Regions from separate parts of the Homo sapiens genome. Here regions 2 and 3 are each linked to region 1. The links are contacts of gene promoters, found by promoter capture Hi-C in blood cells and fetal thymus (Javierre and others, 2016). All regions are on one chromosome and are shown on one strand. Each heading gives the region's core, a stretch centred on a gene start or on the middle of the fragment in contact. The rest is flanking DNA. Distances are from core to core; before and after follow the strand shown.

The links. Contacts are between HindIII fragments. The CHiCAGO score rates a contact against its expected background, and 5 or more counts as called.
Region 2: a contact is called between the fragment with the promoter of NOL10 here and the fragment with the promoter of CIMIP5 in region 1, in 2 of 17 cell types (M0 macrophages and non-activated CD4 T cells). The highest score is 7.3, in M0 macrophages.
Region 3: the fragment with the promoter of GREB1 here is called in contact with the fragment with the promoter of CIMIP5 in region 1 in 9 of 17 cell types (M0 macrophages, erythroblasts, megakaryocytes and 6 more); the score reaches 9.9 in M0 macrophages.

What each region holds. Positions count from the first base shown.
Region 1 is chr2:11,131,651-11,134,738 of GRCh38, forward strand. CIMIP5 (ciliary microtubule inner protein 5) reads left to right here and starts at 1,478. Exons shown (of 3, transcript NM_001371321.1): 1 at 1,478-1,941. The coding sequence starts at 1,685. It overlaps FLJ33534 (Putative uncharacterized protein FLJ33534), which reads right to left and starts at 526. Exons shown (of 9, transcript NR_040080.1): 1 at 365-526. The HindIII fragment of the contact is 3,513 bases long and covers 1,056-3,088 here.
Region 2 is chr2:10,688,309-10,691,396 of GRCh38, forward strand. It overlaps NOL10 (nucleolar protein 10), which reads right to left and starts at 1,667. Exons shown (of 21, transcript NM_024894.4): 1 at 1,488-1,667. The coding sequence starts at 1,553. It also overlaps the pseudogene RN7SL832P. RefSeq lists enhancers at 1,114-1,173, 1,234-1,513. The HindIII fragment of the contact is 7,879 bases long and covers 1-3,088 here.
Region 3 is chr2:11,532,560-11,535,647 of GRCh38, forward strand. It overlaps GREB1 (growth regulating estrogen receptor binding 1), which reads left to right and starts at 1,486. Exons shown (of 33, transcript NM_014668.4): 1 at 1,486-1,695. The HindIII fragment of the contact is 4,942 bases long and covers 1-3,088 here.

The sequences.
Region 1 (3,088 bases), core at 228-2,727:
GAAGCTGGCAGCTCTTTCTGGCCTGGCTCTCAGCCCTGTCTTCTCCACGCCAGCCCTCCGCCCGAGCCCAGTAGGGGCTTCGTTGCCACTGCTCACCCACACCACGCCATGGCAATGGTGACCTCACCTGTTTTTTGCCCCTGTCCTGATGGTTCTGTTCCCTGCAGCTCCCTTGGGGCTCACAGCCCATCGGTATCTCCCCACTGGGTGCAGGATACCGTGGAAAATACCCCGGGGCCTGCCCCCATGTGCCCTGCCACCCCCGTCCTTGTCTCCTCCCCCACATCTCCCAAAATACCAGGCTCTCTCTTGCATCCAAGCTTTTGTGGTCACCCCAGTTTTTCTACCTGGCAAGTCCTTTCACCTGTGAAGTCCCAACTCCTTGCTGCCTCCCTCATAGAAGCAGAATCCAGCAGGGGCACACAGGACTGGCTACAGTGCGAGCTCAGTGGTTCACTGGCTGCCCTGCTGCCCTGCACCCCGGGCACTCTGCGCAGGCCTCTATTCGTCAGGGCTTTGTCTGCACTTAGCTCTTCCCTTACAAAGATAGGAAGCAGCGCGCCAGCTGAATGGACCCACAGAGAAGCTGCGTGGAAGGAACTGTGAATCTGCCAGCACCTACCGGAACAGCACAAAACTCAGAGAACCGGAAGCAGAGAGTGCAGGAGGCAGAAGTGATGAGAGCAGCGGGCGTCCATGGAGCTCAGCTGAGCCAGACCAGGAGAGGCTGCCACGGAGGGAGCCTGGTTGTACCCAGTTAGAGCAGAAACAGGGCTGAGGGCTCGGACCATAAGCCCTCAGATTCTCACTGTTCCTTTCAGCTGGTGACTGACTGTGTGACCGTGGGCGGTCACTTAATCTTGCCGGTAAGGGCCTCAGTTTCCTCATCTGTAGAATGGCGTTGGAAAGGCATGGCTGGGAGGTCTCAGATAAAGCAGAGTGCTGTGTGAACGCTCTGGGTTTGCAGACAGAGTGGATGTTCCTAGTGCATTGCACTCATTTTCCTCGCCCAACATAAGCTCATGACTTCCGCCATCGTTCCCAAACAAGCAGGAAGCTTCACACTGATGCCTGATCCACAATTCCCAAAGCGCCCTCAGGGCCACCATTTCTTGCGAGCCTCGCAGCATCCACGAGGGGGCAGCACAGGACTAACATCGCCCCACGGCCTGACGGGCTGCCGGAAGCAAGTGCAATAATGGTGGGGGTGGCCCCCAGGAGCCCCAGCTTTGCTCCCTCCCCCTCCCCCACCCTGTGCGGAGGACTCCGGCCTTGGGGTAGGGGGCTGCTGAACTGGGCGTGGCATCTAGTCAGGAACTCTCTGCCCCCCAGCCCTAGGGCTCAGATCACACACACACACACACACACACACACACACACACACACACACACGGGGCCCGCCCCTTTCCTAGGAGCTGTCCGTTCCCAGGACAACAGTCAACACAGCACAGGCGGGAGTTCAAAACGAAACTGGGCTCAAATGCTCTCCCCAGCCCGGAGAGCCCTGTCCCCATCGGCCACTCTGAGCTCGAGGCCTAAAGGGACAGTGAGGAGGACCCTGCCCAGGCTCTCCCGGGGTTAGGAGGGACAGAGTGTTCCAGGAGGAGGTTTGAGCTGAGCTCAGGCACAGGTCTCTCTCTCTCTCTCTCTGACACAAGCGCACACACACACACACACTTGCACCATGGGGAGCCACCCCACCCCTGGGCTCCAGAGAACCACATCAGCTGGGTACCGATTGCCCCCCACCAGGCCACCAGCCTCGGTCTCCCCAGCTGCCCGGGGTGGCCCTATGGCCAGCAGGGGTCTTGCTGGTGGCTGCCAGGCCCCCCAGGCTCTGAAGGCGCAGCGGGTGGCTCAGGGAGCTGCCTGCGATGGCGTGCAGCAGGACCAGCTGTGGCGGGAGCTCCTGGAGGCCGAGCGGCGGGGCCAGCAGCGCTGGTGAGTACCTGCCCTCCCTTTTCCACCCTGACTCCGCAGCCTGACTGCAAGTTGGGGAAGGTTTTGGAGAAAGGGAGATGGGAGGGCAAATGATCTGGCTGAGGGACAGAGGGCATGGCATGCCCGGGGGAAGGTGGGTCACCAGCCCAGCCCAGAGCCAGACCCGAGCCTGAGCCTAAGAAGCGAGGAAGATGGAAGCCAAGACCAGATGCCGCTGGGTCAGAGCAGCCCCACCTCGTTCATTCCGACTGCGACGCGGCCGGTAATCCCTTGAGCTGGAGCCTGCTGGCCTAGTCTGGGTTAGAGGAGCTGGCTGTCTGACCTGACTCGGGGAAAGGATGCTCCTTCATGCATTCATTCAACCAAAAATACCCATGAGCCGCTCTGAAACGAGACCAGACTGCAACAAGGGACTAGACAGACCTGGCCATGGCTCCACCGAGCCTTCATACTCAGGACAGGGCAGCCAAAAAGCAAGCAGAGAAGCAAACAAGTACAAATCTGTATGAAGTGTGACCAGCGGTAAGAAGGAAACAGTTCAGGGTCGGGGGCAGAGCCGGCTGAAGGCCTCTCTGAGGAGGAGACATTTAAGCTGAGACATGAAATAGGAGAAGGAGCCAAGAGTTTGATGTATCTAAAAAACAAAACAAAGAATTCGTGTAGCTGAGGCACAGGGAGTGAGGAAGGCCACAGGATGAGGGGGAGCAGCGGGGGCCACCCCAGCCCTTATAAAAGTCTGGATGCATTTTTTCCAAAGGAGACACCATCCAGGATTTTAAGCGGGAACATGGCATGATCTCGATTACATTTTTAAGTGAGCAGCCTGATAGATTCTAGGATGCATTCATCTTGCACCACTGAAACTTCATACCCGTTGATTAGCAACGCCCCATTCCCCCTCCTCCCAGCCTCTGGCACCCACCATTCTAGTCTTTGCTTCCAGGAGTCTATTTTCAGTGCCTCATAGAAGTGGAATTGTGCAATATTTGACTTTCCATGTCTGTTTTGTTAGTATCCTGTCCTCCAGGTTCATCCATCTTGTTGCATATCGCAGAATTTCCTCCCATTTTAAGGGTGAATGTATATATGTGTGCAGTTTCTTTATTCATTTGTCAATGGACTTTTAGGTTGCTTCCACATTTGACTA
Region 2 (3,088 bases), core at 417-2,916, 440 kb before region 1:
ATAAAACTTGAACTTCCTACCTTTCCTACCAGGCCTACCTCTCCAGCCTCATCCACCCTGCTCTCGCCCCCTCACTCAGCATAGTGCAATCACACCTGTGCCTCTTCCGTCCTCCTACATGTCCAGTGCATTCCCATGTGGGGCTTTTGCACTTTCTGTTCTCAGCACTGAAAACTCTTCCCCACATCTTCACACGACTGGCTCCTCTTCATCATCCAAGTTTCTGCTCATATGTCACCTCTTGTAGAGAGGCCTTCCCCGAAGGTTTTATCCAAAACACTTTCTCTCAATATTTTATCCAAAACAGCTCTCTTCTAATCATTCACCACGAAAAGTACTTTTTGACTACCTTAAATTGCCTTATTTGCTCACTTGTTTATTTCCCTTTTCCCCAACAGGGAACCTTATCTGAAATGTCCACTATAGATCCCAATACTTAAAACAGAGTTGCTTGCACACAGTAACTTCTCAATACATGTGGAGAATGAATGAACAAAATGAGAAAGCTCATGGGGTGTGAAGAACAACTGGAAGACAGGGAATTATTCAAACCAGAATTTTAGGAAGAAAGGAAAAACCTAAGCACTGGCTCCAAATTTTTGTAGAAGCAGACGCATGGAAGGAGAGCTATATTTATTCTGTTTTCCAAGGGCAGGACTCAGGCCAACAGTGGCATGCTATAAGGTGACATATTTGAAAACCACTTTCTAACAAGTGCAGAGTCTCAAAATGGAAATGAGCTTCCACAAAAGGTAGTGCTCAGTGGTAGTGCTTGGACAGAGGCTGGATCATCACGTATAAGAAACAAAAGACAAGTTTCAGAGCCTAAGTGTGTCATGCTGGACAAGTCACCCTTCCCCTTGCTGGATCTCAGCTGCATATTAAACGCATTATTAAATCTCAGCTGCATTACTAAACACGAGAAGATTGGAAGAGAATTACCGACTTGTCCAAGCCCTCTCCAACTTTAAGACTAGGAATCAGGTTAAGTTCAACAAGTCTCGAAAATACTGTCCTCTACACCATAAATTCTGCAGATGCGAAGTCTGTATCTCCCTTGTTCACTGTTGTATCCCTAAGACCTGGCAAATGATAGGGACTCCACAAACAGCTGATGGCCATATGGGGGAGAGATGTGTCAACGAATCTGCCACGTTTTCCTCCTCGATGTACGGCAGGGACTGTGAACACCCAAAGAGGCCCAAATGGTTGCGTTCTCTGGAACAGAGAACTTTACAAAAGTTCCAGCAAAGCTCACTGACCCTGATTATCCCTTGGTCCAGTTTCTGGCGCGGTGACGGCAGTGTCCTTGTCTCCCAATGCCGACACCTCCCCCGGAAATTGTCAGCCGCCTCTGGGCCTCCCCGAGTCGGGGGGTGACCAGCGTCCAGCTAAAACAGAGGCTAGGGCCGAGGAGAGGGGCGGCTGCCCCACGAGGAGGACGACCCCCAAGAGCTCGAGAGTGAGGGGGCCGGGAAGTGACTCACCTCAGGAAGGGACTTGCCGCAGCTGAGGCTGTAAATCTTCACCTCATTGAGGCTGGAGACCTGCATGGCGCCGCACAACACTGTTCAAGTCCCGGGTCCTTTCCCACCAGCGTGCTCGAGCACCGTAATCCCGGGACCTCCGAGCCCCTGCTCCGCGGCGTGCGGCCGCTGGCGCCGACTGATGACGCACTTCCTGGAGCCGGAACACGCGGGCAAGTTCCCGGAAGAGGGAAGGTGGCTGAATCCGGGAAGAGCGGCGGCCGGGAGAAAAACTAGTGAGGCTCTGACAACCCGGCGTGGCTGTCGGCGACGCTGCTACGGGCAAGACTAGACACAAGCCGGGCGCGGTGGCTCACGCCTGTAATCCCAGCACTTTGGGAGGCTGAGGCGGGCGGATCACCTGAGGTCGGGAGTTCGAGACCAGCCTGACCAATATGGTGAAACCCCGTCTCTACTAAAAATACAAAAAAATTAGCCTTGCGTGGTGGCCGGCATCTGTAGTCCCAGCTACACGGGAGGTTGAGGCAGGAGAATTGCTTGAACCTGGGAGGCGGAGGTTGCAGTGAGCTGAGATCGCGCCGCTGCACTCCAGCCTGGGGGACAGAGCGAGATTCCCTCTCAAAAAAAAAAAAAAAAAAAAAAAAACTAGACACAGCTCTCCCTGCTGTTAGCATCCCGAGCGGCAGGAGGAGGCTTTCGAGTCTCTGCCCAGGCCGAGATGTCATCCTCCCGGGCGGGGGCGAGGCAGTTCAGCGAGTGAACCCAGCGAATGAAGGCGACCAGGGTGCGAATTCCGAGTGGAAGTGTATTCTCTTCTCTCCTCCAGTGTTTCTGCGATGTTACGTTAGAAGTACTGTAGGCCGGGTGCGGTGGCTCACGCCTGTAATCCTAACACTTTGGGAGGCCGAGGCGGGCGGATCACCTGAGGTCAGGAGTTCAAGACCAGCCTAGCCAAGATGGTGAAACCCCGTCTCTACTAAAAATACAAAAATCAGTCGGGCCTGGTGGCGCGCGCCTGTAATCTCAGCTACTCTGAAGGCTGAGGTGGGGGAATCGCCTGAACCCGGGAGGCAGAGGTTGCCGTCAGCTGAGATCGTGCCACTGCAGTCCAGCCTGGGCAACAGAGTGAGACTCCGTCTCAAAAAAAAAAAAAAAAAAAAAAGAAGACTGTGGCGTCATCTTCAACCCATTCCTATCTCTGGCCCTCACTTTCAGTATCTAAACCTGGATATTTCTAATTATGAAATATTTCCTTAAAGTAATCTGTTTTCATTCCTCCTGCTGAAACTCAAATACTTAACTATTTTTGGATTATAACTTTCCCAAGTGATCTTCTTACTTCCTTTGATTTAATGAACAAATTATTTTATGCCTTACTTTCTAAAACCCAAATATTATTGTTTTGCTCTCCTACCCACAACATTTTGGAAACTCTCAAATACCAACACCACATTGCATCAGAATTAGGTTGAGAGTTCTTCGTGGACCCTATATCATTTGTCCTTATATTCCCTATCCACCCCATCCACCCCTACCCAGAGTACCAGAACAGTGCCTGGCCTCTATTAGGCATTGCTACATATTTACATTTAGCCATGTAC
Region 3 (3,088 bases), core at 236-2,735, 400 kb after region 1:
AATACTTCTGATTGCCGCAGCAGACAATGATGAATCATACCTAAACAAGTTTGCTGCCTTTTCATTTCTGTGGGTCGTAATCAGACTCATTGTTTTGTAGCCAGTGAGACATTTGCAGCAGCATGTTTGGGTCTGTGGGAGGAGGGAGGCTTGCAGATCTTCCCAGCGATGTGTGTGCTTGTCCCCACTAGCGCAGTGGAAACAGTGTTCTTGTTATCCAGGTTTAAGCCCTGTTAGGGATATGGCTTGTCCATTGTCATCGTGATGATACTGCTTAAAGATATCCTTTGTTGAGCACCTGCCATATGGCAGACGGTGTAAAAGGTGCTTTACGGTCCTGGTGTCATGGAAAGCCTTCCAACAACCTTATGATAGAGGTATTATTATCTTCATTTTGCCAAGAAAACTGAGGCTCTGGGAAGTTAAGTCAGTCACATAGCCAGTAGATACCAGGCACCCATAAATGTTTGTTGAGTGAATGAATAAATGAAGGAATGAATGGCAACTCCAAACTAATGGGAGAGAAATGCAAGAAGAGAGAGACTGATCAACATGAGACAAAAAACTTGGTGCTACAAGTTAAGAGGTTTTGCACATCCCAATTATTCATTTTTGCAATTTTTAAGCTCCACTTTCAAATAGAGACGGGGATTGGGATGGGATTTCAATGCAGGCGAATAACACAAGACAGATGGAGGAATATGTTTATGATCAGCAAAGAGATCACTCATCTTGAAAAAAACAGATAAATGGGAAAACACTGAAGTGCCAGCCACAGTACTAAATACTCTACTACATTATCTCATTTAATCCTCACAAAGTCAGCTTTGAAGTCAGCACTGTTATCTCTGTTTATGGCTGAGGAAACTGGAGCTCAGGGAGTGAGGGAGGCTGTCCAAGGTCACACAGCTCCGGTGGGTGAGGGGGCAGGGACTGGACCCAGGCACACCCAGCTCCACAGCGTCCCTGAGACTCTGTAAACAGAAGCCGGGAACAACAATTTCATTATTTATGCTTGAATTTAATTTTGTGTTTGATGGAGGAAAAAATGGATGATACACAGATTGCTACCAACAAAACCCAACAATTGGTTCTTTGAGATTCTAGCTTAGTGCAGGGAGAAAGGCAAGCCGGTGATGAACGTTTTGGGGTAGCCAGAAACAATGAACTAGGGGTGACTGGTGTGAAATTCAGTTGTGTGGACCATATTTTCTAAACTAGAATCTGCACACCATGCTCTCCCGCCATGTTCTCCCCTAGGAGAAAATTGTAGCTTGCAGGCAGAAATGTAAACACATAATCAATTCTACTATAACTTGATATATGTGTTCCTAAAAATTATTGCACCATGCAAGATTGGGCAATAAAAACCGCAGGGTTTATGACGAATACAGGCTTAGGGCAACAGCTCTCAAAAACTTCATCAATGACACATTTTTTAAAAAGATAAAAACCTAATAAAAAGGGCAGCACCGTTTTACACATGCTAAATGGTTAAGAGATACATAAATACTGCAGTAGAGATGGGATTTTACCTCAAAGTGCAAAGGTAAATGAAATAAAGTTTTTTCAATGGAAGGCTTGCAGCTCTTGAGGACCTGCCAAATGGAAGAAGGACAGAGACCTGGAGCCCTATGGAAAGTTCTGACACCATGTGTGGAAGGACATGGCTTTTAACACGTGTGGTGACTGGAGGTAGGTGGTAGGTGCTTGAGGCTGGTGTGTGTGCGCCTTTTGTATATTCTCAAGCAGCTGGGGTCAGTTGGGCACCATTTTTCTGAACTTACTTTTGTGTTTCTTGCAGAGGAAATCACCAGGCACACACAAAACCCACAAGGTATTCAAATTGTTCTGTAATATGTCAATCTGTCCGTACAAATTTGCAGTTTCAAAACAAGCGTTATAGCTGAACTGACTGTATGTGGGAACATCACTGCAACTCTTGCTGACCCTGTGTGCTGAAGTGGGGAGCGTGCGGCTTTCATACCCCCAGCCTTTCTGCACAGCTCTTCAGTTTACCTGGGGGCCCCTCAGCAGTAAAGCCAGATCAACAGGCTCACCCGTGAGAGCTCCTCTTGTGTGATTGTTGAGTGGCTCAGTGATTGGGTTGGTTGGGAAACAGAGTGTGGCCCTCAGTCTTCCTGAGGATGGTAATTAGAGGGGGATGTGTGCTTCTTCTTCACATATACCTGGTTGTTCTCTGATTGCTTTGGTGTCTTTTCTTCTGTTTCTTCTCCTGGATGTTGTTTTCATGTTTCCTTCCTTAAGTGCTACATGACCCTTGGATTTTCATGTGTGTTTAAGAGTGAGGCAGAGAAGGTTGACTGGGAGTGTTGTGTCCACAGGGGGCGCTGGTGTCTGGCAGGTGTCACTTTTGGGGTGCTCAGGACAGAATCAGCTGGCATTCTGGAGGCCTCTGAATGCCAGACTGTGCGTTAGCGGCTCTAGTTCTTGTTGGTTGATTCAATTTGTATCAGAAGAGCTTTCGGTATTTTTTGCCTGGGGTGAACGCCTGGCTCCTGGGAGATCTGCATGTGGCCCTGGGGTGGGAGGTAGAGGAGCTACCTGCTCTGTAGACAGGATTTCACAGAAGACCCCTGGTCCCAGCGCTGCTGTGCACTCCTCCCAACACTTGTCTGGCGTATCTGAGTCTCTGCATTTCCTCAGGGCCAGTTGGTCCCCCCAGGTATGCACCCTTCTCCTGTGTCAGCTCCACATTCCCTCTCTAGTCTGGCTTCTGGAAGTTTATGAAACCTGAACCTCTAGTTAGCTAATGGCATCCCTTCCATCTTTTCATCACTGTGGCTTAAAATACCTCACCCCACTTATTTATTTATTTATTTATTTATTTTTAATTCAGTATCTTTTGAAGGTCATCTCAGGAAGGGCCAGGTACCATGTTGAATTAGAAGTTAATTCTCATACCATAATCTAAATGTCTGTTTCCATTAAACAGCATTTTTACAAGGAAAGGACTTTACTCTTCGAGTTTCCAGTGCCTGGCACACAGGATGACACTTAAAAAATAATAATAAATAAATAATAGAGAAATAAGGTGTGTGTTGATTGAAATACATTGATTGAGTTC